Regions from separate parts of the Homo sapiens genome. Here all the other regions are linked to region 2. Evidence: promoter capture Hi-C in human tissues and cell types (Jung and others, 2019). All regions are on one chromosome and are shown on one strand. The core of a region is centred on a gene start or on the middle of the fragment in contact, and the rest is flanking DNA. Distances in the headings are between cores, read along the strand shown.

Region 1 (2,794 bases), core at 186-2,685, 370 kb after region 2:
TCTCTAATGGAGAAGGAAGGACAAATAGTCAGCTGGGCATGGTGACTCACACCTGTAATTCCAGCACTTTGGGAGGCCAAGGTGGGTAGATCACTTGAGGTCAGGAGTTCGAGACCAGCCTGGCCAACACGGTGAGACCCCATCTCTACTAAAAAACACAAAAAAATGGCCGGGCGCGGTGGCTCACACCTGTAATCCCAGTACTTTGGGAGGCAGAGACAGGCGGATTGCGAGGTCAGGAGATCGAAACCATCCTGGCTAATATGGTGAAACCCTGTCTCTACTAAAAATACAAAGAAATTAGCCGGGCGTAGTGGTGGGTGCCTGTAGTCCCAGCTACTCGGGAGGCTGAAGCAGGAGAATGGTGTGAACCCGGGAGGCGGAGCTTGCAGTGAGCCAAGATCACACCACTGCCCTCCAGCCTGGGCGACTCAGTGAGGCTCTGTCCCCCCCCAAAAAAAATTAGCTGGGCGTGGTGGCAGGTGCCTGTAATCCCACCTACTCAGGAGGCTGAGGCAGGAAAATCGCTTGAATCCAGGAGGCGGACATTGCAGTGAGTGGAGATTGCGCCACTGCATTCCAGCCTCGGCGACAGAATGAGACTCCACCAAAAAAAAAAAAACAAAAACAAATGCAAAAACAAAACAAAACAAAAAAACCAAATAGTTGATAACACTGTGCATCCGAGAACAGAAGCTGGTGTTGGGGACTGCAGAAATTATACCTACAATTTAGCAGTTTGCTGCCAGATCAAGGAGAGTTAGGCCGGGGGTGGATTTGATACCCTGCTTCCCACACATTTGAGCAACTCAGATGAAACAGAATCGGATGCTGATGGCGAGGAGGCCTGGGCCCCTCCAGCCATGTCGGACCCCAGGCCCCTGCACACTTGCCATTTCCCACACTCGCCATTTCCCATCTTCGGGGTCTCCTGGGTCCTCCCTCCGGCTACCACGGCCAGCACAGAGCACAGAGCCAGGGCAGTGGAGCCAGGAGCCAGAAGAAAGGTAATGCAGCCAGCTCAAGAAAAGAAAATTCACCACAAGATCGTACAGGGTGGGGTGAGGTTGGGGGCAGACAGGGCTCTGAGGCGCGCCTGATTGGACAATAAGTAGGATGCCATCCTGGCACCCCTAACTGGATATAACTTCAGGCTCCGCCCCTGTGGCTTAAGGGGCAGAACACTTAAGATGTTTCAACAGGGATCCAACGTGGTTCTAGCACACACCGTATGCAGTGGTGTGCCTTCCTCCAGGTTCCAGATACCCATGTCCAAAGTCAGCATCACATATTACATGCATTAAAATTTTTAACCAATGCAAAAATGACAATAAGCCATACCTATATCTTTACGGGGAATCATTATTGTTAACCTCAAAAAGGCAGGACTGTCTATATTGCTATGCACTATCTACATCCACACTTAAGCAGTTCCTGAAATGGTGCTGAAGATGTATAAGAGGTGGAAATATAAATGACCGATGGTGACATTTCTTCACTCACTGATGTTGCCACCCTCCACAGAGAACATATACACACACCCTCAGCTTCCGTATTATCTCACACCATCATTTACTTTCCTTCAAAGTGCTTATTTCCTTCTTATAAACCAGTCTTACCATTTTTTCAACCCCTCTCCTTTCTCACAAAAATATAAGCACCAGGATTTCAAGAATTTATTCACTTTGTGTTCCCATATCAGAGCCTTCAGTGCCTGCATCATTTGTGCTTAATTCTGGATGTTCTGAGTCTACAGTTCTGGCATATGAGGCATATTGAAAAATTAGCATCAAGAGCATATTATCTGAGCAAGAGAGGCTTGATTAGAATAGTGATCATGTCTCTGTCCCTTGCTAGGTTTATATTCTGACAACTTTCCTAGAGGCATTAGCCTAATTTGACTAATAAGGGAGACTTTTAAAAATTATCAGTAGTTGGCCGGGGGCGGTGGCTCACGCCTGTAATCCCAGCACTTTGGGAGACCGAGGCAGGCAGATCACGAGGTCAGGAGATCAAGACCATCCTGGCTAACATGGTGAAACCCCGTCTCTACTAAAATTACAAAAAAATTAGCCGGGTGTGGTGGCGGGCACCTGTAGTCCCAGCTACTCGGGAGGCTGAGGCAGGAGAATGGTGTGAACCCGGGAGGTGGAGCTTGCAGTGAGCCGAGACTGCGCCACTGCACTCCAGCCCGGGCAACAGAGCCAGACTCTGTCTCAAAAAAAAAAAATTATCAATAGTTAGAATTTATATATTTCAACTGAGGTATCTTATGGGAAGCCATGTCTAATTCATCATAAGAAATATTTCAGTGTTTAGGTAATAAACTTAGCGCCACTCCATCTTTTTTACTTCTGGGTAAGAACTATCATAATAACCAAGGCCAGAAATAACCTTGCTTCTTCATAGTATACAATCCAGAGAAGCTTCTTGCTTTGAATAGCAATCAATACACCTGAAGCAAGCACACGTCCTAGAAGAAATTCTTTTGGGCTGGGTGTGGTGGCTCACGCCTGTAATCCCAGCACTTTGGGAGGCCGAGGCTGGCAGACCACCTGAGGTCAGGAGATCGAGACCACCCTGGCCAACATGGAGGAACCCCGTCTCTATAAAAAATACAAAAATTAACCAGGCATGGTGACCTGTGCCTGTAATCCCAGCTACTCAGGAGGGTGAGGCAGGAGAATAGCTTGAACCTGGAAGGCAGAGGTTGCAGTAAGCCCAGACTGTGCCACTTGCACTCCAGCCTGGCCGACAGAGTGAGACTCCATCTCAAAAAAAAAAGAAAAAAAAA
Region 2 (2,700 bases), core at 162-2,661:
TTCTGTCTTTTCTGAGGTTGTACCTTTGGCGCCTGGGGCCATTTCCTGGACAGTGTTTTGGTTTTAGCATTCATGGGGTCGCTGAGTCAGGCTGTAATTTGTATACATGAAGAAAATCTGTGAGGGTCAGACTCAGTGAAAAACTTGTTTGCATTGTCCCCTGGAGAAAAGGTTTGGGAACATGACAATTTATTTAGGTCACGACTTTACATTGACTCCGGGTGAGAGTTTCCTGCTGGTACAAATGAAGGTTTTGAAGGAAAGAGTGTTTCCACACTGTGAGGAGAGGACTGGAGGGCACCTTGAGCTCCCAAAGTTGAATTCTTAAGTGTCCCTGTCTCATCACCAGGTTCTGATCCACACTGGGGTTCCATTTCAGCAGTTAGAGTCTGGGTCCCAAGCTTGGGATTATTTTATTTTATATTTCATTTCTTCATTTCATTATTTCATTTCATTTCATATTTCATTTTTTAGTCTCGCTCTGTCGCCCAGGCTGGAGTGCAATGGCGCTATCTCGGCTCACTGCAACTTCCCCCTCCCAGGTTCAAGCGATTCTCGTACCTCAGCTTCCCGAGTTGCTGGGATTACAGGCACCTGCCACCACGCCTGGCTAATTTTTGTATTTTTAGTAGAGATGGGGTTTCACCATGTTGGTTAGGCTGGTCTTGAACTCCTGACCTTAAGCAATTTTCTCACCTTGGCCTTCCAAAGTTCTGGGATTACAGGCGTGAGCCACCGCGCCCGGCGCTTGGGAATATTTTTAACGTTATGATTGTGGGTTTTCCTTGTGAACTGCGGGTGAAGCAGGCTGCTTGTCTGAGCTAGTTCAAATGTTTGCTTACTTCTCTTGGTTTCTTTATAGATGATCGCTGTCATAAAAACTCCAGTTTTTCCTATACATTTAATACTTTTATTTCTTTGTCCGTTTTAATTTTCTTGCCTGAAAGAAGCAAGCCCTCCTCCCTCCTGTTACACTGTGGTCTGGCCTGGCCTGGGCGCGCCTCCTACTCCGAGGCCAGGGGATGGCTCCACTGGACGCCGAGTCTGTCATTCCCTGTGCACACTTGTGACTCTGTGTCCGGGAGGAAAAGGCAGGAAGGGCACCCTGAGTGCAGAAACACGCCAGTGTCACCTCTGCAGAGCCTGAAACACTTTCTGCTTAAATGCAAATATCCTCCCCGGCACAGAAGGTTACAGAAGGAGGAAGCCCGGCCCGCGAAGGGCAGTGGCCAAGACCCTGTCAATCTGTCTTTACTCAGCCACATACCGCATTGCTTCTCCTGTCACTCAGTACCAAGGGGGCAGGACTTGAATCATCACCCAATCAGGGGCACTGGGGCGGGAACCTGCAAACCATCCAATCAGGAACTCTGCAAGGGGGACAGGGGCAATGTTCAACAACTCCGCGGGGTCTTCCTGTTTCGTGTCCGCTGCGTTTGGGTTCCGGTCTCCGCTTCTCCAGTGGCCCCGGTGGCTCCACCGCAGCGTCTGGCGCGCTGGGACCTGCACAGGCCGGAGAGAGCCGTAGGCAGGACCCCGGGACACCCTGGAAGCCAGGAAATGGTGCGTGTGCGGGGCCGGGCGCCTGGAGACTGGGGGAGGGGCTTGTGGGAACCGGCCGGAACCGGCTGTGGAAGCACCCTGGCCTCCCTGCAGCGACTCCAGGGTCTGGGACCCGAGTTCCCTGGCGCAGCTCGGCCCTCTGTCCCCTCGGCCGCAGGGTGGGTTGGGCCGTAGCCAGTACCCCAGGCGTCCTGTCCCGTCCCTGCGCGGCGACTGCGGCCTCGGCCTCGGAGCCCTGTCTGGGCAGCTCCGCGCCCGCAGCCCCGCCTCTCTCCAGATTGTTTGTACTGGGACACGGGAGGGTCATAAGGCGGAATCCCGTCTCGGGTGTGCGGTTCGTGCATGGGAAGAGCTGTGGGCTGTGGCCTTCCCAGTACATCGTCTTTTTTTCCGGGGGACTGGTCTTCCTCCGAGTCTTCCAAACGTACTGGAAAAAGAATCTCAAACCTACGACTCCCGTTTTTTTTAGCCTAGCTTTTTCTGGGGCTGGAAATAAATGCCTAAATTTCCGGTTCCTTCCCCGCATTCCCAAAGGTGACCTCCCCTCGCCAAATCAACATTATCAGCTGTTTTTTGTTTGACATTTAAGACACAGTATTTTAGTTGTTTATAGTTTCTTTCACCATACTCTTTTGAAAGGATTTGTTTTCTGTTTGTTGTTTTTTTTTTCTTTTCAGACAGAGTTTCGCTCTGTCGCCCAGGCTGGAGTGCAGTGGGAAGATCTCAGCTCACTGCAACCTTCGCCTTCCGGGTTCAAGCAATTCTCCTGCCTCAGCCTCCTGAGTAACTGGGATTACAGGCATGCGCCGCCACGACCGGCTACTTTTTGTATTTTTGGTAGAAACTGGGTTTCTCCATGTTGGCCAGGTTGGTCTCAAACTCCAGACCTCAGGTGATCCGCTCACCTCCGCCTCCCAAAATGCTGGTATTACAGACGTGAGCCACCGCGCCCGGCCTCTTGTTTGTGTACTTGTAACCTGAGAGGGAAACGGAGAATAAGAACCTGACACTCTACGGTAAAATTTTTTTTTTTTTTTGAGACAGAGTTTCGCTCTTATTGCCCAGGCTGGAGTGCAATGGCGCGATCTCAGCTCACTGCAACCTCCACCTCCTGGGTTCAAGCGATTCTCCTGCCTC
Region 3 (2,744 bases), core at 84-2,583, 270 kb after region 2:
TAACTAAAAGCCTTCCTTACGGGAAACAAAGGGAAGGGCTCTGGCTAGTTATCTGCAGCAGGAACTTGTCCTTAAGGCACAGATGGCCCATGCTATTGTTTGTGGTTCAGGAACGCCTTAAGCAGTTTTCCACCCTGGGTGGGCCAGGTGTTCCTTGCCCTCATTCCGGTAAACCAACAACCTTCAGCATGTGCGTCATAGCCATCACGAGCATGTCACAGTGCTGCAGAGATTTTGTTTATGGCTAGATTTGGGGGCCTGTTCCCAACACCTTGGCCTCCCAAAGTACTGGGATTACAGGTGTGAGCCACCACACCTGGCCTTCTAATGTATGTCTTAGTCATCTTGTGTTGTCCTAGGTGGTTGCACACTTTTTGTGTATTTTACAACATTTTAAAGTAGTTCCTGCCCAGTTTGACTCTGATTGGATTCTGTTGTAGATGAAATAGAAAAGAGAGCCTTGTTTCAGACCTTCGGTTAGTCCCCAGACTGATTCAAAAATACAAAGGCAATAATGTGGAAACAAAATGTGATCTGTACACTCTGTGGTGATCAGAGTTCTACACTGGGAACTCTGCTGTCTTCAGGACTGGCAATGAGATGGGCAGAGATGGGGCCAAAGAAAAAACAATACAAGGCTTTTCTATCATTTTTCACTTTCCTGTTTATGTATCTTTTTCTCTCTGTTAATAGTATGGGATGTGAAAAATTACAGTTTTAAATCTTCTGTTTGTTTTTGTAAAGCTGTCTACTTTCTTGATGAGAAGGTTTTTTTTAAGCATCTTTAGACATTTATGACTTCTATAAAAATTGGTTTATGTAATGTTATTGATTATTAAATGTCTGCTGTTGAGATTTATGGAATATAATTGATATTCATGAAAGCTGACACTGAATTCTGTCTAAGAACATTTGCAGTCTGTCCTCTTCTTTTCTTTCTCCTTCGACATTACCCAGTAGAAAGTTACAATTTTTTCTATTTAGTTGGTAAAATCTCTTTTATTAGTCTTTTGTCATACTTAACTACATTTGATCTACAGGGAACCAGTCACCAGCTTCCAAATATTCTCTCTGTGTAATCACGTAGGATAGGCTAAATCCCCCAAGTAAGACATTGAAAAAACAACAACAACAAAAATATGAAATATCATCTACCAGAGTTGCACATTAGGGACCCTGTGCCTAGAGTGTTTCTTTGTGTATGTCTTAGTCTATAAGACTGTTTTTTTGTTACTTACAACAGGATACCAGAACTGGGGTAATCTATAAGAAATGATATTTATTTTTTGCAGTTCTGAAAGCTGGGAAGATCAAGTAAGGTCAAAGTGGGCATCTGGTGGGAATCTTCTTGCTGATGGGGACTCTGTAGAGTCCCTGGGTGGTACAGGGCATTACATGATGAGGGGGCTGAGTGTCTAGCTGAAGTATCTTCCTCTTCTCATAAGGACACCAGAACCTCATCTGTGATAACCAGTTTATTTATTAAGCCATTCATACATGAGTGGATTAATCCATCCATGTGTTCCAAACCCTCAAGACCCACTCACCTCTTAAACCACTACCTTTGATTACTTCCACATTGGAGATTCAGTTTCAGCCTGCATTTTGGAGGGGAAGACATTCAAACCTAGCAGTGGCTGATTGGGTACACTTCCTCTGCTGAGGATGTAATACAATTCCAAACTCTCAGAGGGAAGTTAGGAGTTAAGCAAATACCATAATTTTTACACAAATAGTTTAGGCACACTCCACCCCCTTTATTAGTTATGCTTACGGGGCCCTCCCCTAAATACATTGTCTAGACACCACGAAAGGTTCAACATTGTGAACAAGCAGTTGTAAGGATATGCCGTCTCAGGACTGCTAATTGTAACTCTCTTTTGCACAGTAGGTGGTAGGACTTTGTCATGACAAGGACTACAGACCCACTGTAGAAACAGACATTAGGAGTAATCCAGGCAATAAGATTCACTTGCATAATTCACCAATAAGAGATATGTTCCTACTCAACTGTTATTTTAGCAAGCCCAATTCCAGCATCAGAATTCCAGCATCAGACAGTGAGTGCAGACACAGAATAAGAGTGGATTTACCACGTCATTGAATAAATGCTTGGAAACCACAGCATCATGGGAAGTTTATGAAGGTGAGTATAGGTTCTCAGTACTGTGAGTTTCAACCTTCCTTTTCTGGACATATGGGATGTTTCAGGACTCAGTGGCCTTTGAGGATGTGGCTGTGAACTTCACCCATGAGGAGTGGGCTTTGCTGGGTCCATCACAGAAGAATCTCTACAGAGATGTGATGCGAGAAACCATTAGGAACCTGAACTGTATAGGTATGGATGACATCATGTCTTCATTTGGTCAATTAGAGACATTTGTTTTGTGGTCATCAATGCTGTTCAGTGATTTGAAATATGGAAAAGGGATACAGTTCATTCCTGAACAACACAGGGTGAAGTGCCAGGCCCCAACCTGTTGTATGTCCTCATATAATCTTTTGTCTGCCACAGCTTAACCTACTTTTGACCAGCAGCCTTATCAGTCATATAAACAAGTGACGAGCACATATATGTCATATGTATTGCATACTGTATTCTCAGAATAAAGTAAGTTAGAGAAAGTAAATTTTTTTTCTTTTTTTTTGAGATGGAGTCTTGCTCTGTCGCCCAGGCTGGAGTGCAGTGGCTCCATCTTGGCTCACTACAAGCTCCGCCTCCCGGGTTCACACCATTCTTGCCT
Region 4 (2,700 bases), core at 114-2,613, 330 kb before region 2:
CAGTTTCAAGCCAGTACTCAGATTCCCATAGCCCTTTGCCCTGCCATGATCCTTTGAGGCTGAGGTGGGAGAATCACTTGAACCCCGGAGTTCCAGAGCAGCCTGGGCAACATAGTGAGACCCTCATCTCTGCAATGAACAATTATCTGGGTGTGGTGGCACAGGCCTGTAGTACCAGCTACCTGGGAAGATCTCTTGAGCCCAGTAGGTTGAGGCTGCAGTGAACTGTGATGGAGTCACTGCATTCTAGCCTGGGTGAGAAACCATTATCCTGTCTCAAAACGACAAAAAACAAACATACAGTCACCTCTTTGCTAGCTCAGGGGATCCTGGAGAAAACGTGCAGAATGAAAAAGGAGAGTCTGGGTGGCGTGGATTACATGCCTGTAATCCCAGCACTTTGGGAGGCAAGACAGGTGGATCCCTTGAGCTCAGGAGTTCAGCCTGAGCCACATGGTGAAACCGTGTTTCAAAAAAAAAACTACAAAAATTAGCTGGGCATAGTGGCATGTGCCCGTGATCCCAGCTACTCGGGAGGCTGAGGTGAGAGGATCACTTGAGCTGGGGAGGCAGAGGTTGCAGTGAGCCAAGATTGCGCCACTGCACTCCGGCCTGGGCAACAGAGCGAGATATTGTCCGGGAAAAAAAAAAAAAAAAAAGGAAGGAAAAAAAAAAAGAAAGAAAAAGGGGAAGATACACTGGAACACAAATGCTTCTTAAGGGGCGCAGTGGCTCACTTCTGCAATCTTGGCACTTTCGGGGGCCGAGGCTGGTGGATCACGAGGTCAGGAGTTCGAGACCAGCCTAGTCAACATGGAAAAACCCCGTCTCTACTAAAACTACAAAAATTAGCCGGGCGTGGTGTCGGGCGCCTGTAATCCCAGCTACTCGGGAGGCTGAGGCAGGATAATCGCTTTAATCAGGAAGGCGGAGGTTGCAGTGAACCGAGATCGTGCCATTGCACTCCAGCCTGGGCGACAAGAGTGAAACTCCGTCTCAAAAAAAAAAAAAAAAAAAAAAAAAAAAAAAGAGGAAGAACAAAGGTCCCAAGAGTTGGACCCAGGTTGTAGGGCTGGAATAAAAAATAAAATACAAACTTGTGCCTGATCCAGAAACCCGGGCGGGAGTTGGGTCAGACAGAAGAGCGTGGGCTGGGATTAGCTACCACGAAAAGGAACGGTGGCCAGGCTCCAGGAGACGCTGGAGCGCCGGGCCCGTCGTGGGCGTGGTCTGGGCAGACTCAGCGTTGCCTTTTGCCTCTCCAAAACGCAGCATCGCGTCTCGGGGGAGGAGTCTGTACCCTCGTGATGTCCCCGCCCCGGTTCCCAGGCAAGTTTAGGGAAGTGAAAGGCGCCAGGTGCCAGTCCTGGCCTCTGATGTAACCCAGCGCCCCGCAGTCCCGACACAGATTCCTGGATCTCAGCCCCATAGCAGCTATGATCCCGCTGCTGCTGGCAGCGCTGCTGTGCGTCCCCGCCGGGGCCCTGACCTGCTACGGGGACTCCGGGCAGCCTGTAGACTGGTGAGTGCGCAGCGGGGGGCCTACCATCGCCCCGGGGTCCGGCTGCGGTCACTCAACCGGGATGGCTACCTCCTCGGGGAACCCTGGGGTGCCTTCTCTTCCCTCTCTCCTATTTCTGTGCATTCTCCGACCTCCAGGTTCGTGGTCTACAAGCTGCCAGCTCTTAGAGGGTCCGGGGAGGCGGCGCAGAGAGGGCTGCAGTACAAGTATCTGGACGAGAGCTCCGGAGGCTGGCGGGACGGCAGGGCACTCATCAACAGCCCGGAGGGGGCCGTGGGCCGAAGCCTGCAGCCGCTGTACCGGAGCAACACCAGCCAGGTGAAGGGGGCCCCGGGCCAACTAGGGGCGAAACTCTAGGGCTGCCCTGCCTGGGAGGAATTTCACGTTGCCTCCGTTTATCCGCCCGCAGCTCGCCTTCCTGCTCTACAATGACCAACCGCCTCAACCCAGCAAGGCTCAGGACTCTTCCATGCGTGGGCACACGAAGGGTGAGGCCTGGATTGGGGGCTGGGGAGAGACTCGGGTCCCATTTTTCCAAGGTAACCCCTGACGTGCATGGGGTGGTCGGGGAGATCTGCACTGTCAGACCCTGGGCATCTATTCCCCCCAACTTTTTTTTTTCTTTGTTTTTGAGACGGTGGGAGTTCGCTCTGTCACCCAAGCTGGAGTGCAGTGGCACAATCTTGGCTCACTGCAATCTCTGCCTCTGGGGTTGAAGCAATTCTCCTGTCTCAGCCTCCCAAGTAGCTGGTATTAAAGGCGCACCATCACACCAGGCTAATTTTCATATTTTTAGTACAGACGAGGTTTCACCATGTTGGCCAGGCTGGTCTCGAACTCCTGGTTTCTACCTCAAGTGATCTACCCGCCTTGGCCTCCCAAAGTGCTGGGATTACAGGAATGAGCCACCCTGCCCAGCCGAGTTCCTATGCATTTTTCCAAGCTAACCCCTGACCTCCATAGTGGGGTGGGAGATCTCCCCTGTCAGACCTTGGGCATCTATTTCCCCTATTTTATTTTCTTTTAGACAAGGTCTCACCCAGTCACCTAGGCTGGAGTGCAGTATCACAGCTCACTGCAGCCTTGACCTCCCAGGGCTCAGGTGATCCTCCTACCTCAGCCTCCCAAGTACTGGGCCTGCCGGTACCCCCCACCACGCCTGGCTTTTTTTTTTTTTT
Region 5 (2,788 bases), core at 122-2,621, 420 kb after region 2:
TAGAGACAGGGTTTCACCATGTTAGCCAGGATGGTCTCGATCTCCTGGCCTCGTGATCCGCCCACCTCGGCCTCCCAAAGTGCTGGGATTATAAGTGTGAGCCACCACGCCTGGCCCAAAAATTCTTATTTTGACTATTCATGTCTTATTTTTGCACTTTTTCACAAAGCAAGGTCAAAAAGCAAAGGAAAAATCCTTTAAGATCAATGTACTTAGGTTGAAAATGTGTTTTTTCTCAGGAAAAACTTGTAATTTATATAATTACAATCCTCAGTTTATTTGCAGCATCACCAAATTTTCTTACATATTTCAAATGTGAACTTAAGATATATATTTTTCTCATTATTTACATTTTGCTTCCTACCTATGGCTTTTTTTTTTTTTTTTTTGAGACAGAGTGTCGCTCTGTTGCCTAGGCTGAATTGCAGTGGCACGATCTCAGCTCACTGCAACCTCTGCTTCCCAGGTTCAAGCAAGTCTCGTCACAACCTCCCAAGTAGCTGGCACTACAGGCGAACACCACCATGCCCAGTTAATTTTTGTGTTTTTTGTAGAATTGGAGTTTCACCATGTTGGCCAGACTGGTCTCTAAACTCCTGGCCTCAAGCGATCCATCTGCCTCGGCCTCCCAAAGTGCTGGGATTATAGGCATGAGCCAACATGCCTGGCTCCTCTAGACCTTTTAAATCTTTTACTCATGATATTGGTCAGCCCACGGTCAAAATAATTCATAAAAGGTATATACAAAAATTCAACACCACAATGAAAGTTAAATTCATTTGTTTAGAACCACTCAAGCAACTCAGGTGTACACAGATAGACCTGTGGCAACTGGTGAACAATTAAATGGCACAGAAGTGGCTGGGTGCAGTGGCTCATGCCTGTAATCCCGGCACTTTGGGAGGCCGAGGCGGGCGGATCATGAAGTCAGGAGATTGAGACCATTCTGGCCAACATGGTGAAACCTGTCTCTACTAAAATACAAAAAATTAGCCGGGCGTGGTGGCGGGCTCCTATAGTCCCAGCTACTCAGGAGGCTGAGGCAGAGGAATCCCTTGAACCCGGGAGGCAGAGACTGCAGTGAGCTGAGATCGTGCCACTGCACTTCAGCCTGGCAAAAGAGCAAGACTCTGTCTCAAAATAAATAAATGGCACGGAAGTTGCAATAATGACCTCTGCTGTGCAGTACTCTCTTGGCAGAGATACACAAGAACTCCAATAAGGCCCTCATATGATATGCAGAACTGCCTCAAACATCATGTGACCATAGAACTTTGCCAAGGACAGTCTTTTTGTACATCTCTGCACCTGGCTTACCCAAAGATTGGACTGGGCGCATTTCTCAAGCCATTGTCTACTGAACGTTCTTTGTAGCGTGTGGGGCAATGACGATTGCCTAGGTGTAATTTCCTAATCGCTGGGGTAGGTCTGGTTTCTGAGGGCCCAGCAGAGGAACTCAGTTCACAAAAATGGCTTCCTGTAGTTTCTGCTTGATACTTCCTATTCTGCCATCTTCCCAGAATCCTCTTTCCTGACTTCATATACTAACACGTCATTTCAGATCTCACTACAGATGTCACCACCTCAAGACACTGTCTTCTTTTCCGCCCCCCTTACCCCAACTTGAAACTCAAGGTCACACTCTCTCACCCATTACTCCTATTTCATTTAGTGTGTAGAATTTTTTCAACACACTTGTCAGAATCTGGAACATAACGTTCACAGGGTTGATTGCTCTCTGTTTAACAAGGTAAAAAGTTAAGTCATGTAGGCTGGGTGCGGTGGCTCACGCCTGTTATCCCAGCACTTTGGGAGGCCAAGGTAGACAGATCACGAGGTCAGGAGATCGAGACCATCCTGGCTAACATGGTGAAACCCTGTCTCTACTAAAAATACAAAAAATTAGCCGGGCGTGGTGGCGGGCGCCCGTAGTCCCAGCTACTCAGGAGGCTGAGGCAGGAGAATGGCATGAACCTGGGAGGCAGAGCTTGCATTGAGCCAAGATTGTGCCACTGCACTCCAGCCTGGGTGACAGAGCAAGACGCTGTCTCAAAAAAAAAAAAAAAAAAGTCATGTAAATTTAAGTGTCACCTTTCTTTTCTTTTCTTTTTTTTTTTGAACCTTTTCACCAACTGTTACACACTTTTTTTTTTTTTGAGACAGAGTCTCGCTCTGTCGCCAGGCTTGAGTGCAGTGGTGCGATCTCAGCTCACTGCAACCTTCACCTGCTGGGTTCAAGCAATTCTCCTGCCTCAGCCTCCCGAGTAGCTGGGATTACAGGCACGCACTACCACACCTGGTTAATTTTTGTATTTGTATTTGTATTACAGATGTGAGCCACCGCGCCTGGCTTACACCCTATATTAAAAAGTATTTCAGGGGCCAGGCACGGCGGCTTATGCCTATAATCCCAGCACTTTGGGAGGCCAAGGCGGGCGGATCACTTGAGGTCAGGAGTTCTAGACCAGCCTGGCCAACATAGTGAAACCCTGTCTCTACTAAAAGTACAAAAATTAGCCGGCTGGGGTGGTGGCCACCTGTAATCCCAGCTACTCGGGAGGCTGAAGCAGGAGAATCACTTGAACCTGGGAGGCAGAGGTTGCAGTGAGCTGAGACTGCAACACTGCACTCCAGCCTGGGCAACAGAGCAAGACCTTGTCTCTAAAATAACATAACATAACATAACATAACATAACATAACATAACATAACATAACATAACAACATAACATAACATAAATACAGTAGAGTAGAGTAGAGTAGAATTTCCAACAAAGTCCTTTGAACCA

Evidence for each region. Contacts are between HindIII fragments. The study calls those that stand out against the background at their distance.
Region 1: a fragment that was not itself captured here is called in contact with the fragment with the promoter of ZNF564 in region 2 in 6 of the 25 tissues and cell types used here (H1 embryonic stem cells, dorsolateral prefrontal cortex, heart left ventricle and 3 more).
Region 3: a fragment that was not itself captured here is called in contact with the fragment with the promoter of ZNF564 in region 2 in 5 of the 25 tissues and cell types used here (adrenal gland, dorsolateral prefrontal cortex, lymphoblastoid cells and 2 more).
Region 4: the fragment with the promoter of DNASE2 here is called in contact with the fragment with the promoter of ZNF564 in region 2 in 1 of the 25 tissues and cell types used here (adrenal gland).
Region 5: a fragment that was not itself captured here is called in contact with the fragment with the promoter of ZNF564 in region 2 in 5 of the 25 tissues and cell types used here (aorta, dorsolateral prefrontal cortex, heart right ventricle and 2 more).

What each region holds. Positions count from the first base shown.
Region 1 is chr19:12,179,308-12,182,101 of GRCh38, reverse strand. The region is part of intron 1 of ZNF136 (zinc finger protein 136); the gene reads right to left. Among named protein-coding and RNA genes, the nearest start is that of ZNF136, 18 kb to the right of the region's middle. The HindIII fragment of the contact is 3,876 bases long and covers 1-2,794 here.
Region 2 is chr19:12,550,193-12,552,892 of GRCh38, reverse strand. ZNF564 (zinc finger protein 564) reads left to right here and starts at 1,411. Exons shown (of 4, transcript NM_144976.4): 1 at 1,411-1,563. The coding sequence starts at 1,561. LINC02926 (long intergenic non-protein coding RNA 2926) reads right to left here and starts at 1,167. Exons shown (of 2, transcript NR_187485.1): 1 at 24-1,167. RefSeq lists enhancers at 1-360, 1,144-1,438, 1,504-1,613, 2,272-2,700 and a silencer at 1,844-1,923. The HindIII fragment of the contact is 29,302 bases long and covers 1-2,700 here.
Region 3 is chr19:12,275,550-12,278,293 of GRCh38, reverse strand. It overlaps ZNF44 (zinc finger protein 44), which reads left to right. Exons shown (of 4, transcript NM_016264.4): 2 at 2,212-2,338. Among named protein-coding and RNA genes, the nearest start is that of ZNF44, 18 kb to the left of the region's middle. The HindIII fragment of the contact is 9,813 bases long and covers 1-2,744 here.
Region 4 is chr19:12,880,112-12,882,811 of GRCh38, reverse strand. It overlaps DNASE2 (deoxyribonuclease 2, lysosomal), which reads left to right and starts at 1,363. Exons shown (of 6, transcript NM_001375.3): 1 at 1,363-1,522; 2 at 1,660-1,840; 3 at 1,932-2,010. The coding sequence starts at 1,437. RefSeq lists cis regulatory regions at 1-241, 981-1,541 and enhancers at 1,436-1,545, 1,205-1,832. The HindIII fragment of the contact is 10,490 bases long and covers 1-2,497 here.
Region 5 is chr19:12,126,947-12,129,734 of GRCh38, reverse strand. No RefSeq gene overlaps it. Among named protein-coding and RNA genes, the nearest start is that of ZNF20, 12 kb to the left of the region's middle. The HindIII fragment of the contact is 9,523 bases long and covers 1-2,788 here.